Linked DNA regions of Homo sapiens: regions 1, 2 and 3 are each linked to region 4. The links are contacts of gene promoters, found by promoter capture Hi-C in blood cells and fetal thymus (Javierre and others, 2016). All regions are on one chromosome and are shown on one strand. The core of a region is centred on a gene start or on the middle of the fragment in contact, and the rest is flanking DNA. Distances in the headings are between cores, read along the strand shown.

Evidence for each region. The method cuts DNA at HindIII sites, captures the fragments that hold promoters and counts their contacts. A CHiCAGO score of 5 or more calls a contact.
Region 1: a fragment that was not itself captured here is called in contact with the fragment with the promoter of KDM8 in region 4 in 2 of 17 cell types (monocytes and neutrophils); the score reaches 6.4 in monocytes.
Region 2: a contact is called between a fragment that was not itself captured here and the fragment with the promoter of KDM8 in region 4, in 5 of 17 cell types (neutrophils, activated CD4 T cells, naive CD4 T cells and 2 more). The highest score is 8.7, in neutrophils.
Region 3: a contact is called between a fragment that was not itself captured here and the fragment with the promoter of KDM8 in region 4, in 9 of 17 cell types (fetal thymus, naive CD4 T cells, non-activated CD4 T cells and 6 more). The highest score is 11.9, in fetal thymus.

The regions. Positions count from the first base shown.
Region 1 is chr16:27,385,465-27,388,164 of GRCh38, forward strand. No RefSeq gene overlaps it. Among named protein-coding and RNA genes, the nearest start is that of IL21R, 15 kb to the right of the region's middle. The HindIII fragment of the contact is 1,669 bases long and covers 439-2,107 here.
Region 2 is chr16:27,344,602-27,347,301 of GRCh38, forward strand. It overlaps IL4R (interleukin 4 receptor), which reads left to right. Exons shown (of 11, transcript NM_000418.4): 5 at 268-419; 6 at 1,866-2,017. Among named protein-coding and RNA genes, the nearest start is that of IL4R, 32 kb to the left of the region's middle. The HindIII fragment of the contact is 9,331 bases long and covers 1-2,700 here.
Region 3 is chr16:27,404,366-27,407,065 of GRCh38, forward strand. The region is part of intron 1 of IL21R (interleukin 21 receptor); the gene reads left to right. Among named protein-coding and RNA genes, the nearest start is that of IL21R, 3.5 kb to the left of the region's middle. RefSeq lists enhancers at 1,098-1,686, 1,461-1,910, 1,687-2,275. The HindIII fragment of the contact is 3,807 bases long and covers 1-2,700 here.
Region 4 is chr16:27,202,157-27,204,856 of GRCh38, forward strand. KDM8 (lysine demethylase 8) reads left to right here and starts at 1,370. Exons shown (of 8, transcript NM_024773.3): 1 at 1,370-1,480. RefSeq lists an enhancer at 1,415-1,574. The HindIII fragment of the contact is 9,655 bases long and covers 1-2,262 here.

The DNA of each region.
Region 1 (2,700 bases), core at 23-2,522, 180 kb after region 4:
TGGGGTTTCACCATGTTGGCCAGGATGGTCTCAAATTCCTGATCTTAGGTCTCGGCCTAAGCAATCATTTGTCTCTAGACTTCTCATTCCATAAGGGAATTAGCTCTTAAGTGTTTAAGAGCTTAAGGCCTCGGCCTTCCAAAGTGCTGGGATTACAGGCGTGAGCCACCATGCCCGGCAGTACCTCTTATACTTAGTACATGCCACTAACTCAAGTGCTTTGCTTTTAGACCTGTGTATCCGCCTTCCCATTGAATTTAAAACCTTTGACAGTGAAAAGAAGATCTGTTTTGTTAACTGTGAAAATTTTGGAGGTGGCAGGGGAGGGAGAAGATGGGCAATTCCTCCTCTGCCCTAAGACTGTAATCAGCTCACCCCACCGCACCCCCACCCCTGAACTTGGAGGCTGGGGCTCAGCCCCAGGGTCCCCTAAGAGAAAGCTTGCAGAGGTGCCCAATCAGCTCAGTGGTTGCTGTAACCCTCTGTCTTAGCTGCTCAGGATGCTATAACACAATGGATGGGTGGTTTGCACAACAGACGTTTATTTCTCACAGTTCTGGAGGCTGGAAAGTCCATGATCAACAAGTTGGTCCAGGAATAACATTAGGGATCAGAATGCAAAGGAAATTCCTTCGCGCATTTGTGCCAGTCTCTGGTAGGCACATTTTCAGTGCACCACCTGAATTCTCTGTGCAGCATCTGGAAAACTTTGGTAAACTCCCATCTCCCCAGCTCTGCAGTCAGAAAAGAAAGGCAGCTGAATCCATGCCTGATGAAGGCTCTCTTCCTGGCTGGCAGACAGCTGCCTTCTTGCTGTGAGGGAGATTGAGGGCAAACTCCCTGGTGTCTCTTCTTATAAGGGCACTAACATTATCAGATCAGGGTCCCACCCTTCTGAGCTCATTTCACCTTAATTACTTCCTTAGCGGCCTCATCTCCAAATACAGCCACATTGTGGGTTAAGCCTTCAGCATATGAATTTGGCAGAGGTTGAAAGCAGCACATTCGGTCCATAATTATCTCCCTCCATGGTAAGCCCTCCTATGTCTTTCTAAGAATCAGAGACACACAGACACTCAGCATGAAAGGAGACTTCATTGCCCTTGGTCCAACCACACACTCAGTTAATCCAACCATACCCCCACAGTGAGGAGTTGTTTACATACCAGGGACAGGGAGCTCACTGTCTTCTCCAGTTCATCAACTCTGACTATGCTGGTCTGGACCTGCTCATGACCCCCACCCTGAGTCTTCTCTTTCCAAATACTTCTGCTGTCTCATGGTTTTTTTTACTGTCTCCACACCAGCTGCTCTACCTTCTCGGTTGCCTGTTCTGAATATACATCAATTTGCCAATGTTCTTTAAAAATGAAGGTCCAGAACTGGACGTAGACTGAAGGTGTGGCCAGTGCAGTGAGAATAGCCTCCCTTGTTCTGGACACCATACCTCTATTAATGCAACCCTAGGGTGCTTCAGGTTCCCCTTGGCTGTGACACACTCTTGACTTTGGGAAAATCTCGCAAGCATTTTCCATGTGACATGTTGGTTCTGTGGTTCTAATCTTCATATACATGTAATTGAATATCTGGCTTGAAGTAAAGGACGTCACATGCTTCAGGGGGACCATGGCTCACATCTCTATAGATTTTTTTATACCTTCCCTTCTCTGCACCCTTTTCCCACCATACTGATGTTTTGTGATGTCCTTTTTTTTTTCTCTTCAAAATGGAAATAGCTTGGTTATTTTTCCCAGATTCCAGAAGTAAGATATCATTTTAAAAATCAGATAATACAGAATAACATAAAAAATTAAAAATAAAAATTCCCACCACCCAGAAATGGGCCTATTAACCCTTGAGGCTAGACGGCCCAGGTTCAAATCTTGACCCCGCCACTTACTGGCTATGTGCCTGTGGACCAGTTGCTTAGTCTCCTGCACCTGTTTTCTTATGTCTAAAATGGGGATATTAAAAGGTAGTTTGGGGCTGGGCACAGCAGCTCACGCTTGTAATCCCAACACTTTAGGAGGCTGAGGCAGGAGGACCACTTGAACCCAGGAGTTTGAGACCAGCCCTGGCAATATAATGAGACTTCATTCCTACAAAAAGCTTTTTAAAACTTAACCAGGCGCGGTGGTGCACACCTGTGGTCCCAGCTACTCGGGAGAGTGAAGAGGGAGAATGGCTTGAGTTTGAGAGGTTTAAGCTGCAGTGATCACACCATGATCACACCATTGCATTCCAGTTTGGGCGACAGAGTGAGACCCTGTCTCAAAAATACAAAATTAAAATAAAAGGTGGTTTTGATAGCTTATTGCAGATGGCAAGTCCCTTACAACTGTAAACAATTTTGTATTATTGTTATTAATAATTGTGTTGGTTACAGTTCTGTTTCTCCGGAGAACACTGACTAATACAGATACATCTGTTTTAGTCAGCTCAGGCTGCCATAGCAAAATACCATAGACTGTGTGGCTTAGGCAACAGTTTATTTTCCCACACTTCTGGAGGCTGGTAGTCTAAGTCAAGGTGGTTGATGGTTGTCTTCTGAACAACCTTTCTAGCTTGCAGACAGCCACCTTCTTGTTATGTCCTCACATGGCATAGCTACAGAGTATTCTGTTTCACAGATGTTTTATAAATTATTCATCCAACCCTCTCTTCATGATTTATTTCAACCTAGTCAGTACTTTATACACA
Region 2 (2,700 bases), core at 177-2,676, 140 kb after region 4:
TAAGTCCCAGGACCAGGGCCGGCAGCTAGGCAGGTGTGAGGAGCATCCTTGGTGCATGTGGTAAGAGGCTGTGGCCAGCAAGAGAGGCAACCCTAGTCGGCTGCCCCAGCACACCCTGGCCGCTCCCAAGCCCCCAGATCTGTCCTCACATCCGTGATCGGGAAGCTGGAAGAGTCTGATGCGGTTCCTGGAGGCATGTCCCGGACACAGCTGTGGGGCCCAGCCAGCCTACAGGTGACCAGCCTAACCCAGCCCCTGTGTCTGCAGAGCCCACACGTGTATCCCTGAGAACAACGGAGGCGCGGGGTGCGTGTGCCACCTGCTCATGGATGACGTGGTCAGTGCGGATAACTATACACTGGACCTGTGGGCTGGGCAGCAGCTGCTGTGGAAGGGCTCCTTCAAGCCCAGCGAGCATGGTGAGCAGGGCGGAGTGCGGCAGGGGTGGCTGGGTGTGTTCCCACAGCTGCCTGGGCTGAGGGTGGGGTGGGCAGGGGAGGAGGTGGGGTCATAGCAACAGCAGGAGGAAGCCGCCTGTATTTTCCCAAATCTGATGGGATTCCTGCCCCTGCCTGGGCCTCAGTCCTCCCACCTTTGAAACGGAGCTGGTCGCAGTAGACCACCAAGCCCCCTTCAGCCCAGCTGTTTCCACCCCTGAACTTAAGTGCCCAGGAAGGCGTATTGAGATGAGGTGTGCTTGCTGGAAGGCATGCCTGCTGCTGATTGAAAACCGAACTGGGAACATTCCTTCCATTCTGTGTCCACTGGTCAGCTGCTGCGGCTTTGGATGGTCTTGACCGTGGAAGGCTGACCTTCTTCTGGTACCCGGAGTCCCTGCAGGAATCCCCCTTGAGCTTGCTGGGCTGTGGTGACAGGAGTTTAAAACATGCGTTGTATTCCAGTGATGCATGATATGACATGCATCACAGGAATAAAAACCTGAGGTCTCATGGATATGATTGCTTCAAAGGAGACCAAGTTTTAAAACAGATGAATCAAAATAAAGAAAAATACTCAGTAAATCATCATAAAGTACAGAGATGTGGCCAAAGGTGTGAAGGATGCAGCTGTAAAAGCTGAAGTTTGAGGCCGGGTGTGGTGGTTCATGCCTATAATCCCAGCACTTTGGGAGGCCGAGCCCAGCGGATCACCGGAGGTCAGGAGTTCGAGACCAGCCTGGACAACATGGTAAAACCCCGTCTCTACTAAAAATACAAAAAATTAGTCTGGCATGGTGGCAGGCGCCTGTAATCCCAGCTACTTGGGAGGCTGAGGTAGGAGAATGGCTTGAACCCAGGAGAAGGAGGTTGCAGTGAGCTTAGATCATGCTACTGCCCTCCAGCCTGGGCGACAGAGTGAGATTACGTCTCAAAAAAATAAAAATAAATAAAAATAAAAAGATTTTTTAAAAGGCTGAAGTTTGGGTTACTTTGGCTCATACACTTTGCCTTCACTGTAGAAAGGTGGTTAGTAAAGACCAGGCGCGGTGGCTCATGCCTGGAATCCCAGCACTTTGGGAGCCCAGCGCAGGCAGATCACTTGAGCCCTGGGCTATTGAGGCTGCAGTGAGCTGGGATTGTGCCACTGCACTCCAGCCTGGGCAACAGAGTGGGACCCTGTCTCAAAAAAGAAGAAAAAAAGGGTAATTAATAAACACTAAAGTTCTATGTAGAATTTTAGCAACATTATTGTTATTATAATCTTCTTTGCTATGGCTCTGAATCTGTGTGGTGCTCCAGAAGTATGCTATGGAGGTTTTGTCGACCAAAAATCTGGGTGGTGGCTGTGGTTTGTAGGCCGGGGCTGGGCTGGGTGATGGGGGAGTCACTGCATAGATCCTCACATAGAGGCCGCTTCTCCCGCAGTGAAACCCAGGGCCCCAGGAAACCTGACAGTTCACACCAATGTCTCCGACACTCTGCTGCTGACCTGGAGCAACCCGTATCCCCCTGACAATTACCTGTATAATCATCTCACCTATGCAGTCAACATTTGGAGTGAAAACGACCCGGCAGATGTGAGTGGGCATGCTTTGACGTTTTTCTGTGACCTCTGGGGAACAGGGTGGGTGACCAGCAGAGGCCCAGTCCCTGGAGCCAGGAGCCTGGGAGGCAAGCCCTGGGGCTGGATAGCAAATCCCAGGAGCTAGAGACCTGGCTTCTCACCTGGCTCTGCACTAGGCAAGTCCCTTTGCTTCCTGGCCCCCCACCCCTCACATCAGAGAAGGGGAGTTATCTCTGCATGCCGCTCCTCCTCTGTAAAGGTAGGGCTGTGGGCCACATCTGTGTTTCCCAGTTTGGGGGACACAAGTGATCGTAGGTGGCACATTGACAGCTCACTTGAATAACCCTATTATTGAAGAGAATAATACTGACTCAAGAGACAGTGACCCGTGTCAGTTCCCTTTTGAGGCCAACGGGTTAAGGAGGAAGTCCCCATACAGCTGACTCGTTTACTAATTCCTCTTAATGAAGAGAGCAGAGGCCACACCCCAGGCTTAGACTTTCCCAAGAAAACAAGATCAGTTTGTTGGTTGTTCCCCATGGAAGCTGGTCCTGACATTCCCTTCACAGTAGTGTTGGTGGAGTTTTTGTTGTTGTTTGTTTTGAGACAGAGTCTCACTCTGTCACCCAGGGTGGAACACAGTGGCGTGATCTTGGCTCACTGCAACCTCCGCCTCCTGGGTTCTAGCGATTCTCC
Region 3 (2,700 bases), core at 12-2,511, 200 kb after region 4:
TTCAGGCTAGGAGAAGAAACTGGGAGGTGGGGATTAGAGCCAGTAAGGGGCTTGTGGGCAGTAGAGTAGGGGGTGGATACCAGAGGAGGAGGCCCATTCAAGAGAAAGCCAGCCACCAGAAGTTCTGGGAGGAACCCACCTCTTTGTAGCATCAGGACAACCCAGGTGCCTGATAAATAAATGAATGAAAGGAACGGGGTATCCGTTCCTTCCACAGCCAGAGAGGGAAGCTAGCGCCTTCAGCATCCTCACAGGCAGGCACAGGGGCCTTCTCCACACAACTAGGAAGGGGTGCCTGCGGTTAGATGGGGGAACTGGAACTGGCTTCCCAGCACACCACCCCTTGTGACTTTGAGCTGTGGAACTGGCCAGACCTGGGTTCAAGTCCACCGCTTAGTACCTGTGTGACCTTGAGGAAGCCACCTAACCTTTCTGCAGCTCAGTTGCTGCATCTGTAAGAGTGGAAATAGGAATAAGAATGCCTGTCTTAGGTCTGTGGTGAGGATTTACTCAACCTATTCTTCATGGAACATCTACCATGGCCCAGGCACCTCCCTAGGTCCTGAAGCTCTGGGGTACACAGAGAGAGCCAGTGTGATGGGGAAGGCAAAAGAGCTGGGCACAGATGGCTCATGAGAAGTGCCCGCTATCATGTTTTACTTTTTTTTTTTTTTAATTTTTTTTTGAGACAGAGTCTTGCTCTGTTGCCCAGGCTGGAGTGCGGTGGCGCAATCTCAACTCACTGCAACCTTCATCTCCCAGGTTCAAGCGATTCTCCTGCCTCAGCCTCCCGAGTAGCTGGGACTACAGGCACCTGCCACCACACCTGGCTAATTTTTGTATTTTTAGTGGAGGCGGGGTTTCACCATGTTGGCCAGGCTGGTCTTGAACTCCTGGGCTCAAGTGATCTGCCTGTCTCAGTCTCCCAAAGTGCTGGGATTATAGACATGAGCCACCGTGACCGGCCTATGTTTTACTTTAAATATGTAAGAGCTCTTTGCTTTTAGCTATGAAAATACAGAAAAAAAATAATAAATATTATTGGTCATATTGGCATATATGAGACCTCAGTAAATAAGAGCTCTTATGATGATTCTGCTTCCCCCCTTTTACAGATGGGGAAACTGAAGTTCAGAGCAGGGTGGGGGTTTTTCTAGGGTCACTCAGGGAACCGTCTAGAAGGGAGCAGTGAAAAGAGGGGAACAGATGCTTCCTCCAGGAAGAGGGTCTTCTTGCCCTCGCAGCCCCTTCCTCACATGCCCTCCTTCCCTGCCCTCCGGAGCCCCCGGACACGTGAAGGGGAGGGAGAGGGGGCAATGGGAGGAACCCACCCCCACCCCTGGCTCACAGGTGCCACCGCCCCCACTCCCTGCCCTGGCCCCAGGCCAAAGGGACTTTTCATGACAGCTCAAATGAGACCTCTGAGTAAACTTGGAACTTCTGAAACGACCTGAGAATATTCCCCAGGCTGGGGGGCAGGGGCCACAAGGAGGGCCCCCGACTGCCCAGGACATCTGCATCAGGAACCCAGCCTGCTGATCTCTGCAGCCCACAGGAAGGATCTGGCCACCCCGACCCCTGCCCTGAATTGTCCCCGGGGAGTTGGGGCAAGTGCACCAGCCCGGGTCCTAGCCCAGGCCCCTGCCATCCCCCACTGTGTGAACAGGACAAGGCCCTGGGCCTCTCTGGGCCTCCTTTCCCCATCTGCCAAGCGGGCTTGACTAGGACGAGGGCTTGCCAACTTTCCCCAGAATGAATCAGTAACACCAGTCCACTTTGGCCAGGGCCAGGGCGGGCTGATGGGGGCTGCTGGGAACTGAGGGGAGAGAGACGGTGGGTGGCCAGCTCCGCTCCATCTCGTGGCATAGTTCAAAGCCTCCTTTCACTGCTCTACAAGCGGCCCCTCCTGGGCTGGAGGAAATGGAGCTGGAGTGAGATCTGGCTGCAGAGGCTGAGAGATTGCAAGGTTTGGGCAAGGCTGCAGAGGATGGCAGGGCTTGCAGGGAGATAGAGATTGCACAGGCAGCGGGGGTGGGGAGTGGGGGGTGCGGGTGCTGGGACTGGGACCTCATGCTCCACAGCTAGGAGAGGTTGCACAGGCTGGAAGAAGTGCCAGGAGGGAAAGATTGCTGGAGCTAATAGAGATTTGCTGCCTGGCTAGGAGAGAGAGATAGGCTGAGAGGTCGCACAGCCTCAGAGGTTGCACGAGCTGGGGAGGAGAAGGCCCTTCCTCTCACCTTCGTCTTCTACTGATTAACTGTAAGCCTGAGGTCCCCAACATACCTGCCTTCAGACACCCATAACCCACCCCTTGCCACTGGCGAAAAAAAAAAAGATGAAAAGCAACTAACACTAACCACACACCTAATACTAACCACACTAACCTGCCTCACACTCCGCATCCAGGCTAAGCCTGCTGCCCCCATTCCACAGATGAGGAAAGCTGAGGCTCAAAGAAAGGCAGAGATACGGCCAAGTTCCCACTGTGAGTGAATGGCAGAGTCTGCTTTCTGACCCAGGGCCACTGGGCTAGTTCTTCCCCAGCCTGAGAACCCACTGAGATGAGAACTTGCTGTGTGACCCTGGGCAGCCCACTGTCCTTCTCTGAAAGTTCCTTGTTACTAATCTGATGACATTAGTCATGATTATTCACACTCTGGAAGCAGAAGATGTTGCCTGAGGTGGGTCTGGGGGGAGTTT
Region 4 (2,700 bases), core at 120-2,619:
ACAATGAATGAGAATTGGAGGGTCTGTGTCCTGTTTACCTGCTCTCACAGGTAAACAATGGGGGTGGTGTCTTGGAGTCTTATCTAAATTCTCTTGTGGGGGTGGGGGGTGATTCTTTGCAGTAAACTTTTTTCCACAACACAAAAGGGTGAGAGCAATTCCTTTTTACTTTTTTCCGGGGACACAAGACTCAGGGAAAATTCAACATTGTCACTACTCAAGGGTGGAAACTTAGTGTAGCACATAACCATGAGGATTCTAAACCTGTGGCTGCTGAGTTCAAACACCAGCATCCCAGTGAGCCTGGTGGGTTAGGAGATCTTTCTGTGCTTTACTTGCTCCCTCCCTGATATGGTTTGGCTGTGTCCCCACCCAAATCTCATCTTGAATTGTAGCTCCCATAATTCCGTGTTGCGGAAGGGCCCAGTAGGAGATAACTGAATGATAGGGGAGGTTCCCCTCATACTGTTCTCCTGGTAGTGAATATGACTCATGAGATCTGATGGTTTTATAAGCGGTTTCCCTTTTCACTTGGTTCTCATTATCTCGTCTTCCACCATGTAAAACGTGCCTTTCACCTTCCACCATGATTTTGAGGCCTCCCCAGCCATGTGGAACTGTGAATCCATTAAACCTTTTTGTTTGTAAATTGCCCAGTCTCGGGTATGTCTTTATCAGCAGCATGAAAGCGGACTAATACACTCCCTAAAATGGGGATGAGCATGATCATTACAATAGCTACGATCCTCATATTTTTAAAGTATTTTAGCACCGTACCTAGAATCCACTAATCTATGAACTGATCCTGAGCAAGCCTGTTTCCTACTCAGACCCCAAGCTCAGTACGAACATAACTTTCCATGCCTCTGTGCAATGCTGCAAAAGGCGTGCATACTTGGAGTCCACAGGAGTGTGTGCTCAAAACACAAAAGTCCCAGTGACCACGCACCACTCGGCATCAAAGCAAAGGTGGCAGGAGTGTGTCCCCTGGCCACTTGCCTTCTCACTCGAACAGACTGTGGATGCAGCACTTGCTCGTGGGTAATTGTGGATCTGACTTTCCAAAAGTACAAGTATGTGGCCACTTTAATCACTGAGCCTCAGTTTCGCTCTCTGTAAAATAGGGAGAACTAATAATCCTAGCTGCAGAGATTAAATGGTGGATGCAAACAGCCTTGTACGAAGTTGTTATCTGTGCAGAGGAAAAAGCGGTATCACTAGCGTGGAAGGACCCAGAGGATACAGCCAAGCCTTTCTGTCTTCTCCATCCCCCGGCCTTTTAAACAGCAGTGGGGCGGGGCCACGGCATCGATCACTCGGCGCTCCTCCAGGCACTGCGTCGTGATCAGACGAGCGGTGAGCGATCGATACTCCTATGCTAGCCTCTGGCTCCTCAGGGGACACAGCCGAGTGGTCGGACCAAACGCAACGAGTCTTCGCCAGCCCAAAGGCGACTCGACACCGTCCCAGCTGAAGAGAGGTTAGTCTGAGCAACTCGAGAGCGGAGTCAGCTCCAGTTCCTCAGAAGTGGAGAGGCCGGGTTCAGAGGCATAGACCGCGCAGGCGTCATGTGAAGCAGCCAAGCCCGGCCTCGCGCGTGCGCCTTGGAAAACCCCGAGGGTGGCTCGAGTTGCCGCATGCGCTCTGAGAATGCAATTTAGCTCGTCGCCGGCCTGCCCTGCGGGAGGATAAAGGGAAAGGTTCCGCGCGTGCGTATGCTCGTCTCTTGGCAGTGGTTTTGCGCATGCGTGAGGGCAGGCCCTTACGGCGGGCTGCTGTGCGCTTTAGCGGTTCTTGGCGTCGCGTTGGTGTAGGCCTAGTGCGCCTGCGCGGGTTTTATACTCTGCTATATGTGTGTCCGCTGCTTTTAGGCAACCAGCCGCTGCCCCTGGGCCGCAAGGCAGGCTGGAAACGATTCCGCCGTCAGGTCCCAAATATGAGCCGCGAGAAATGCAGCCCCGGGGAAGGCGCTGAGGAGGGAAGGGGGTCTGAGGCCTCGGGGCTCAAGGCCAGTGCGGGGTACGGGGGACCCTCTGGGGCCTGGGTGTGTGACTGCCCTAAGGAAAGGTGCTTGTAGCTCGGTAGGACTTAACGATGGGCATCGGTGCGTTTCCCGGCAACGGTAGGAATCGCCGTGCTCAGGAGGACTCGGGAGCAAGCCCGGGGACAGGAGGTGCGCAGGCGTTGGGGCCACACGGACGACCCAAACACAAGACTGTGTGCCCCTTAGAGAGCCAAAGGGATCCCTGTGCCATGAATTAAAGCTTTCTGGAAAATGTTCCAAACTTTCCTGGGAAGTTTTACGAAGCTCTTGTTTTTGCACAATTTTTGTGGAATACTGCCATAATAACATTGAGGAGATTAGAGAACTGGACCGCCTGTTCCCAGAAAGCTAGGTGTAGGCTGATCTGTCCTGGAAGCCCCTTTTGGGAGGCTTTCTCATGACCAGCATGGTGCTTGCAGAGTGCCCACCCTGAGACCCTCTGCAAATCACAGTGAGGCTCTCGGAGAGGCCATTCCACCCAGCCACCTTAAAGAATACTCAGGGAGGTGCTTTAGAGGAGTTGATGTTTAAAAATAATTTAAGGCTGGGCGCGGTGCCTCACACCTGTAATCCCAGCCCTTTGGGAGGCCGAGACAGGCCGATCACTTCAGGTCAGGAGTTCACAAGACCAGCCTGACCAACATGGCGCAACCCCG